Regions from separate parts of the Homo sapiens genome. Here all the other regions are linked to region 3. The links are contacts of gene promoters, found by promoter capture Hi-C in blood cells and fetal thymus (Javierre and others, 2016). All regions are on one chromosome and are shown on one strand. The core of a region is centred on a gene start or on the middle of the fragment in contact, and the rest is flanking DNA. Distances in the headings are between cores, read along the strand shown. Region 1 has its middle 120 kb from the start of C1QTNF9B. Region 2 has its middle 130 kb from the start of SPATA13. Region 3 holds the start of SPATA13 (spermatogenesis associated 13).

What was found. Contacts are between HindIII fragments. The CHiCAGO score rates a contact against its expected background, and 5 or more counts as called.
Region 1: a contact is called between a fragment that was not itself captured here and the fragment with the promoter of SPATA13 in region 3, in 1 of 17 cell types (M2 macrophages). The highest score is 5.3, in M2 macrophages.
Region 2: a contact is called between a fragment that was not itself captured here and the fragment with the promoter of SPATA13 in region 3, in 4 of 17 cell types (M2 macrophages, M1 macrophages, fetal thymus and 1 more). The highest score is 8.5, in M2 macrophages.

The regions. Positions count from the first base shown.
Region 1 is chr13:24,012,468-24,015,965 of GRCh38, reverse strand. It overlaps a transcript of SPATA13 not described here. Among named protein-coding and RNA genes, the nearest start is that of C1QTNF9B, 120 kb to the right of the region's middle. The HindIII fragment of the contact is 1,945 bases long and covers 498-2,442 here.
Region 2 is chr13:24,030,013-24,033,121 of GRCh38, reverse strand. It overlaps a transcript of SPATA13 not described here. Among named protein-coding and RNA genes, the nearest start is that of SPATA13, 130 kb to the left of the region's middle. The HindIII fragment of the contact is 905 bases long and covers 1,122-2,026 here.
Region 3 is chr13:24,159,000-24,162,446 of GRCh38, reverse strand. It overlaps SPATA13 (spermatogenesis associated 13), which reads right to left and starts at 1,727. Exons shown (of 13, transcript NM_001166271.3): 1 at 1,515-1,727. MIR2276 (microRNA 2276) reads right to left here and starts at 31; the gene lies at 1-31. RefSeq lists a silencer at 1,777-1,836. The HindIII fragment of the contact is 10,500 bases long and covers 1-3,447 here.

The DNA of each region.
Region 1 (3,498 bases), core at 221-2,720, 150 kb after region 3:
TCCGAGGGCAGAAGGACGAAGGACAGAAGCGTGTCTTTGATGCTCAAATCCCACTGCCTGAGGAAATGCCTCTGTGTTTTAAATTATTTCTAAGAACCAACAACTTCATTTTGCTGATTTAGGTGGGGTCATGAGGGGACTATGACGTGTCACCAGCCGAGGCTCACCTTGGCATGGTTTGGCTGGAAAGACCCCAGAAACGGTGGACCTAGGAATTGGGGGGGGGCCTGCCAGGGGTCGCCCCAAAGGGGAAGGATCAGGAAGGCCGGGGGTGTCCTGGCTGGTCTGACCTTCTAGGGGATGGCAGGGAAAAACCTTCTGGGATGAACCATGAGCAGAAAAGAAGCCCCATGAGTGGGCAATGGTGAGAGTGAAGCAGAGGGGCCAGGTGGCCCCTGGCTCAGGGTCAGGCCTGACTCAGCTCACAACAGGGTCATATTCAGGTTTTTTATTAAATTACTGCTAACAGAGAGGGGATGCCACAGGAGAAACAAGCTTGGAAGCAGGGCTGTCCCCGAAATTAGTTTTTCCTCACATGTACTTTGAAGAAAGGATTTTCTTAAAATGTACAGTCCAGCTAGTTCCTCTCAGCAAAAGGTAAATTGCTAAGGCTTTTACTTAGGTTCTCTATTTGGGAAAAAAATTAAATAATGTCATGTGTCTATTTTGCAGTAAACTCTGGCTTTCAGCGATGTTTTTGCTTATAAGACTTTTTGTATCTATTCATCTCTCGTTAAGAGTCACAGAGGTCATTGTTTACTATAAAAATCCAGTGGCCAGGCACGGTGGCTCACATCTGTAATCCCAGCACTTTGGGAGGCCAAGGCAGGCAGATCATGAGGTCAGGAAATCAAGACCATCCTGCCTAACACGGTGAAACCCTGTTATCTACTAAAAACACAAAAAAATTAGCCAGGCGTGGTGGCGGGTACCTGTAGTCCCAGCTACTTGGGAGGCTGAGGCAGGAGAATGGCATCAACCCAGGAAGTGGAGCTTGCAGTGAGCCCAGATAGCGCCACTGCACTCCAGCCTGGGCGACACAGCGAGACTCTGTCTCAAAAAAAAAAAAAAAAAAAAAAAAAAAAATCCAGAAAGTGCCAAAAAGGGAACCTGGATCTCAGAACTACAGCAATCCTGTGGAAATCTTAACCAAAAGGGAGAAGACAGGAACTGAAATAACTTGTGTGAATAACACCCTTAATTCACAATTGAAATCAGGATTTGTTTCCTCTCATCAGTTTCACTAAACCACTTACCTTCCTTTTAAAGGAAGTTGTTAAATAACAATAGTAAATTTTAGGAGAAGACATACACTATTTTGTTACAAACTAACAGACCACAGGATGAAGGCCTTTACCTGGATGATCCACTTGCACTTAATGAATAAATATATTTTCTCTTTCTTATGATTTTCAAATATTATTTTCTCTAGCTTACTTTATTGTAAGACTACAGTATACAGTACATATAACATGCAAAATATGTGTTCATCCACTGACACATTATCGGTAAGGCTTCTGGTCAATAGCAGGCTATTAGTAGTTAAGTTTTGGGGGAGTCAAAGGTTACATGCAGGTTTTGAAAGGCCCCAGAAACAGTGGGGCCATTTCTGCATGGGGGAAGGGGGGTGTGTTGGTGCCCCCGAGTTGTCAACTTTAGTTATGATGAGGTCATTAGGGTGAGAGCCTAATCCAATATGACTTGTGTCCTAATGGAAAGGGAGACTCTGGACACAGACATGCACACAGGGAGAATGCAATGTGGAGACTGGAGTTAAGCTACCAAGAACTGGGAGAAGGGCTGGGCCCCGACCTTCCCTGGCACCTGCAAAAGGAGCATGGCCCTGCTGACCCTGTGGCCTCCAGCCTCCAGGACAGCGAGGCAAACCATTTCTGTTGTCAAAGCCACTCAACTGTGGCACAGCAGCCCTAGCAAGCGTATACAGCCCCTTTGCGTGACGGGTTTGGAGGCTCTGACTCTAGCACACTCCAGACTTGCACATCGAGTCAGTACAGCACAACAGCTTAAAACAGGCTCTGCAGTCAGAAAGGCCTACAGTCCATTACCTGCTCCCAATAACCTCATGAACAACATGACCAGGCTGAGCTCTGATTTTCTCATGGGTCAAACGGCTATTGACTGTATGCAGCACCCAAGCCTTCGAGGTTTTTAGAGGACAAAATAAATGAACACATGTGGCACTCCTAACACTGCAGACTGTTGACAGCCTGGTCTTCTGGGGCAAAAAAAAAAAAAAAAGTGGAAAAAAAAAAGACTGTAAGGGACAAGGAGCAAGTGGGTGGTAAGGAATGAAAGCGATGGGTGTAGGTTACTCTTTCAAAACATTTTCTCACAAAAGGCAAATTAGAGATCAATAAGATCTTGGAAGAATTCACAAGGTCAGGAAAAAAGTACCTTTTTAGGATAAGGGCGACTTAAGCTTGTGTGTAGATTTCTTGTCCCCATTCTCAGAGTAGGTAGAATCCTGGGCACTGTCCCCAAGCAGTGTCCCAGGTATGGGGGGCAAGGCACAAGGGTGAGGGGGCTGCCCATGGGCCCCAGAGCTGGGACAAACCAGGAGGGAAACTGAGCAGCAAGTGGGAGAGGATCGTCAGCCCAGTGGGTGAGGGAGGGGAGGAACGGGCTGGCAGTGGGCATGCAATGCTGTGGAAGCCAGGGTGCTCAGATGAAATCAGAGTTCCACTTACAGAGCGGGAGCTGAGCTGAGGAGAAGTTCCTTGGGAGAAAGAGCATGAAACAGTGCAGCACGCGTGGGGAGACAGGAAGAGCTCTAAGCCCGTTTCAGTGGGAGAAGAGGAGGCTGAGGTTTTTCCATGTCTGCACAGGTTGCCATGTACCCCCCACCCTGGCTCTGGGCTCAGCCACATGGGCTGCAGCCAGTGGGGTATTAGCAAAGGGGTGACAATGGGCCCTTGGAAAGCTCACACAGTGTGGCTTTGCTTGCTCCCCACTCTGCCGTCACGGTGAGAAGGTGTCGGGCTGGCCTGCTGGATGAGGGAGAGTTGTGGCCTAGGTGTGCCCTGTCCCCAGCCACAGCTGGGGAGTGCCAGCCACAGGAGGGAGCCCAGCCCAAGCCCGTGAAAGCCCCGACCTGCAGACGCATAAACCAAACAGATGCCACTGTCTGCAGCCACGGGGCTCAGGGTGGTGTTCTGGGCATTGCTGTGGCAACACTGACTGTTGCAGTGGGCATGACTGCTCCTATGCCCGTGCCATTCCCAGCAAGGCAGGTGCTGTAATCACAGGCTTGCAGCCTGCACCCCGCCCACCACACACTTGGGGGTTGGCTGCGGAAGACGGGGAGGGAACAGACTCCAGGAGCTTGTCAGGGCAGAAAAAGATCAACCAGGGGAGCCCCTGAGAGGGGAAGACCATGAACTTGATCAACATGGCCAACTCGAAGGGCCAAGTGAGAAGCCTATCAAAATTGCCATATGCTTGTCCTCTCCCACTCCTTGGAGACAGTAGGCACAGCCT
Region 2 (3,109 bases), core at 325-2,824, 130 kb after region 3:
CTGCTACCTAACATCAAAGGACTTAGTGCAGGCCTCTGAGAGACAGATCTTTTTAAAAAATTAAATTAATGCTTTATGTATCTAGAAAAAAATCTGAATTTTTATTGTCTCCATGAAAAGTATTGTATTACACAAACCTTTCCAATCTACCCAAAATGAGTGAGACAAATGAGTCATTCTCCCTGGCCAGGACTTTATCAAACGCCCCAGTATTCCCAGTGTTGGTGACCAATTAATAGAAAACAAATATTAAGTCTCAGACCTACTTACTCAACTAAACTGAACTGTAAGAATAAAAACTGGACCTTGGACTCTGGCAAGCCACTAGGGTAAGGCCACCCCAATGTAGTGAGCACATTTAGGTTTACTCATATTTAAAAGTTCAGTCACATTTTAGGGCAAACTTAACTCTCAAATATAAAGTTATTTTGAAGTTATTCTGCTCGTGCCCTGGATTTTCCCATGTTTCTGAAACTCTAATGCCTTATTTTCAACCAAAATCTTCTATACTCTCCATTACTGCAGAAACGACAGGGAAGGAACCTTTCCTTGCAGTCAGTTACCCTGTGAACAAGTATAAAGGAAACCCAACATATTTGTAACGACTCCTTATGAAATCTCTGGCAGAGACAGAGCTGAACTGATTCCAACAACATTCCATTTATTCCTAATGCCATATGAGTGGTTGTTAAGAATAATACCATGTGGACTGTTTAAGAAGAAATATTCCCATGACACTTGTTACATCACAGTGAGAAAGAATGTATTCAGGACCATTGCAATGGGTATAGGGACCACTGCTATGTGGTATTGCCATAGGGGAGAGAGAGCAGGCTCAGTGTTGAATACAGCATGGGCAAGTGGGAATTTATAGCCAAGGAGCAGGGTGGGAGTCAGTGGACAGAAAATCACTAAGAGGGAACGTCAGGGTGAGGTGGGGTTGTAGCTGAACCAGCCTACCAGAATTCTTGCTGAAGAGAAGCCGGGTGATCAGACGTCACCTGGGGGATGGTGGAGGATAATCAGACACCAAGCATGGGTGTTCTTACTAAACTGACTTACCAGGGTTCTTGCAAAAACTGAATTTTTGCAAGATGGGCATAGCAGAAGATTCAGAAGCTTGACTAAAGTTTGGCCAAGCAAAAGAATCATTGTCAGAACTTAGAACACAGAGGACAACTGTGGGTGAAGAATTATCCAAAAATGAAGGAAAACCTTGACCCAAAGAAGGAACTCACCTAATGTGATAGCTTGTAAATATGGTACACAGAATATCTTGGAAATCCAGAGGGTGTCCAGAGTAGATATCCACTGCTCTGAAATTAACTGCAGAATGCTGGATGTAGATATAAGAAAGATAATTTTCTAGTGTTGACTGAGGATTGTTTAAGGGAGAGAGAAGGTCCAAGATTATAAATTCCCCAAGGGCAGGTCATATGAGGTCTTAGCTATTTTTGCATCTACAGTGCCTGACATAAGCTCAATGTATGTTCATTGTTTGACCTATTCTGTGGTAGAAATCTCAGTTATTAAAAATGTTCATTTCACCAGATTTTTCATGGCTCAAAGGCCATTTAATTTCTTTAAGTTACTTAAATCTTGGCAGTAATTCCTGCCAAGCATATGTCTAGTCATAGATGTGTTTTCCCCATTGTCTTGGTATCTGGAAAGATCTGGGAAAGTGGACACAAGTTACCGAAAAGGACTCTCTCTCATTGTGAACTAATACATTGGAAGTCTGGCTTAGGAGATGTGCTAGCATGAATTGGTGTGCTAGAGTCAGATCAAATCCAAAGAAACCAATGGAAGGGAGTCTCCCAACCAGTTATGCTATGGACCAGACCTTGGTCTGTGCTAAATGCCCTAAGAAACTGCCACAGACTGAGGTCCTGCCTAACCTACAGGCCAGTCCCAATGCTGGCATCCATGCCATCCATGAAAGGGCCTCCCCTCCGCAGCAGTTCTAAGCATGGTATCAATCAATCAATGAATAAATCAGCCACAACTAAATAAATTAAAATAAGCTTTAAAACCATTTGCTACTTTGAATGGGAGAAGATATTGAGAAATGGAAGAAAATGCGGTAAACTGGGTGAAAACATAGGCTTTGGAGACTAGAAGAGCTAGAATTGAACGGTTATTCAATTATTATTCTAAGATTGGTTGTTACTTTGTGGACTTAAGCAAATTATTTAACCTTTTAAAATCTCAGGGTTCTCTGTAAAATTAGAAAAATAGTATCCATTTCATTGGGCTGTGAGGATTAAATGAGATTACCTACATAAAGGTCTTTTCCACTGCTGGCAATATGGTAGACTGGAGATTCTAAAAATCCTCCCACTACAGAACACCTAAGAATATTAGAGTCAATATATTTTTTTAAAGGAACAAAACCCTTAAACATGTATGGTTGTAGTAGCAAGATAAAAGAATTCCCCTGAAATCAGGAATGAAGTCATAAGATAAATCCAGGGAAATAAGAGATTGTTGAATACTCAGACAGCCTGGGGCATCTTCCAGTTCTAGGGCGCTGGGGACATCTAAAGCTCTAGGCTCTGGGGCTGGGGCTTTAATATTAATGGAAACATGGGTGGGCAGGAGATTAGGGAAAAGAAGAACCAGAGAGCACCACAGGAAGACAAGACACATCAAGGCTGTGCCCTCAGAGAAATGTCAAATAAGGAGAGCATAAGCACCCTACTGAAACCATTGACAGGAAAGTGACCTATCTTGGTCTTGGCTCTTAAGGAAAGTCTCCTATGGGTAGGGTTTTCAGTTTTACCAAATAAAATATGAAGTACAGGAGTTTATAGAGCAGTGAAACTCTTCCATCTGATACTATAATGGTGAACACATGCCATTACACCTATGTCTAACACCAGTGAATGTACAACACCAAGTGTGAACCCTAATGTCAACTAGGGACTCTGGGTGACAATGATGTGTCAGTGTTGGTTCATCAGCTCTAACAAATGCACCACGCTGTGGGGGATGTGGATGATAGGGGAGGGTATATGTATGTATGTATGTATGTGTGTGTGTGTGTGTGTGTGTGCGTGTGTGTGTGTGTGTGTTAGGAGAAGGTAGGGCATATATGAGAACTCTACTT
Region 3 (3,447 bases), core at 478-2,977:
CAAGGTGACAGAGGGCGGACTGGAAGAACACAAGGAACCCAGGGATGCTGATGGAGCATGGAAAACCGCAGCAGAAGGCACTGAGGCAAGGTGTGCCCTCCAGGCGGGGCAGGCTGTGGCTGGGCAGAGCGCCTGCCAGGGAGAAGTAGGGCAAAGGGAAGAAAGCACCTGTGGGAGAAACATGGGGAAACAAGGAAGAAACCTGCATATGCACGGGAGCACAAATAAGGAAGGAGATGGGAGAACTGGGTGGAGGCAGATGGCAAACGTGGGGGCCAAGGGAGGTAGATGAGAATTAGGATATGGGATAATAAGACAAAGCCACATGAAACTCTAAAGTGCGGGAGGAGGGCAGAGAACAGGGAGGGTGCATGACAGGCACCCCGAGAATAATGCAGTGAGGAAGTTTGCAAGACGGGGGAGGGGGACATTAGGAAAAAAGGAGAATTTGTTGGGAAAGGTGGAAAAAGAAAAGGAGTGAGATTTCTCCGCCTGTTAGCAAGGGGAATAAAGGAGAGCAAATCGCTGGGTGACCAGGAAAGGTTCACAGAGAAGAAAACACGAGGCAGCAAAAACCGAAGGTGGGGACAGAGAAAATGCTGGCAGGGGGAGGTGCATAATATAAGGCTATGGGAAGCCATGGGAACAAGAGCTGAATAAATTCACAGTATTATTCTATTTATCCACATCCCTATGCAATGCTGGGAAGCAAATGACCCACAGGGTTTTGTTTGCTTGCTTTGGTTTGGTTTTCCTGCACTTGGAGGGAGGGGAAATTTGCTCAAGCTCTGTAACCTTGCAGTCAGATGGGTGGCCCAGCCCAAGTCACCCGAGCTCCCCCTGACGCTGGCAGCAGCGCGGGCTTCTACCTGCCTGGGGCTGGAGTACCAATTCCCCCACCTCCTGCACAGAATGGGACCAAACCAACTCCGCCAATGCATTCCCTGCAGTCCACAGACGATGGGCACCGGGTCCCAAAATCTTTCCCCTGGGACGAGACTCCGCTGGTACCAAGAGAAACTTGCTTTCTAAACTAAGCTCTCCAACCGCATCGCTCCGGGTCCCCGGAGGCACCAGCCACGCCACCCGATGGAGCAGAGCGTTACAGGGCTCCGCCGCGCCAGGCTCCCCAGACTCTGCCACCCCCACGGCCGCCCCTGTAGGCCAGGCCCCGCGAGCTGGGAGCGCGGGTGAAGTTACAAGGCGACCTCCCTGCAGGCTTCCGGCTGGAAACGGCCTTTTGCGAGAACACCACGTGCATGTCCTCCCAAAAGCGATGGTGCCGGGTGGCCCAGAGGGCGCAGAGCCACCGCCGGGCAGGGAGCGGGCGCACGGACCTAACAGGTGAGCACCCGGTAGCCTCCACCGGCGGGGGAAGCAGAGGCCAAGCAGCTGGGAGCTGGACATCCCGAAGCCCCGAGGCAGTCCACTGGGACTCAAATCCTCCCGATATTCTACCTAACAGCCCATGCCCGCGCCCGCCCGGCAGAGCCGCGCGCCCGAAGCCGTCTTACCTCCTGCGGCGCCTCTTGGCGGAGCCTACAAAGTCAGCGTGTCCAACACGTCCCTGCCCTCAGAGCCACCTCCGGTGCCGGCGGAGCCCCGAGGTCGCCGCACTCTCGGAGGAGCCTGGGATCCAGTGCGCGCCCTCGGAGCTAGCGACCGGCAGGGCGATCGCGGGAGAAAGCGCAACGCACACTCTCCTCCCGCGCCGCGGCAGCACACTCAGCCAAGCCACGCCCCAGCCCCGCTCCCCACCAGGCCACGCCCCCAGCCCGGCTCTTCCCCCCGCCCCATATCAGGCCACGCCCCCGGTTAGCTCACTCCCTCAGGCCACACCCTCGGCCACGCCCCCACACTACCAACCACAGCCGGGGACCCCACCCATCAAAAACAGTTCCCCGGCCAGGCGCAGTGGCTCTTGCCTGTAATCCTAGCACTTTTGGAGGCCGAGGTGGGCGGATCACCTGAGGTCAGGAATTTGAGAGCAGCTTGGCCAACATGGTGAAACCCCGTCTCTAATAAAAATAAAAATTAACCGGGCGTGGTGACAGGCGCCTGTGATCCCAGCTACTCAGGAGGCTAAGGCAGGAGAATCACTTGAACCCGAGAGGCGGAGGTTGCAGTGTGCCGAGATCGCGCCACTGCACTCCAACCTGGAGGACACAGCCAGACTCCGTTTTTTAAAAAAAGAAACAAACAAAAATAGTTCCCTCAGCCACCAGCCAGCCCCCACCCCCCAGGGCGGGAAGAGGAGTCTCATCTCCGGGGCAACCGTGCCCCACTGCCCACTGCCTGGGCCAGAAGTTCACTCCCTGTGAAAGGAAAACGCAGGGTAGGGATTTTTAAACCTACATGTTTCCCAGGGCCTGGGGCAAGTCTTGAGTAGACTGTTGCAGTAAACCGACTCAAAGGCCTATCACCTTTCTTGTGAGGCTCAAGGCCTAATCATTAATTGACATGAAAACCACAGAAGAGAAGCAAACCCTTCTGTGCTGGGATCTGTGCCCCAGTGCTCCATGTTCCCTGATAGGCAGCTAATGGAATTCATAAAATAAATGCATGCTTTCTACCAGTGTAGTTTTTTAGATGATTCATTTAGTGGCCAGCACTATTATTTATAAATGTCTATTGTCTTTTATAATCAAAGAACAATACCCACAATCTGTAAAATAAAAAACAAAAATTATATTACCCAATGAAAAGTGAAAATTAATTTTATGTATGTTTTTTAAAATATTGAAAAAACTCTGTATGACATTATAATGGTGGCTTCATGTCATTATGCATTTCTCAAAACTCACAGAATGAACAGCATGCGGCGTGAGCCTCCTGTAAGTAATGGACTTAGTTCATCTTAATGTAACAACATGGGCCCATCAATCATAACACATGTGCCACTCGAATGTAAGATGTCAGTACAAGCAGCTGTGTGTGGAGGGAGGGGCGTGAGGGAGTACATCAGAACTCCGTGTACTTTCCATTCCTGTTTTCTAAACCTAAAACTGCTCTAAAAATAGTCTATTAATTAAAGCACACTCCAAGATTAATGATAATTATCTGTGGGTGGTGGAAATATGGGCAAATTTTATTTAATTCTTTGAATTGTTATTGAAATTACCCCAAGTTTTAACAATGACCATGTATTTTTAAAGCTGAAAAAATATAAAAACCAAACCTTGGAAAATTTTAGAAACATAGTATGTGAGGCTAATATCATTGACTGTTCCATTTTATTTCTACTCTATAAAAAATCTGCACAAAGCACTCACAAATGCTAAAATGAAATCTATGTTAGTATTATTTAAAAAAAAATATCACGGTCTAAATTGAGGGTTTTTTTATTATCTCTTTAGAATTAGCACAAATCTGAGGAGCAGATTTTGATTTTTCTTTTAAAAAAATTGTGTTTCAAAAGGTTATTTCTGCCTACTTGGAAACCACTAT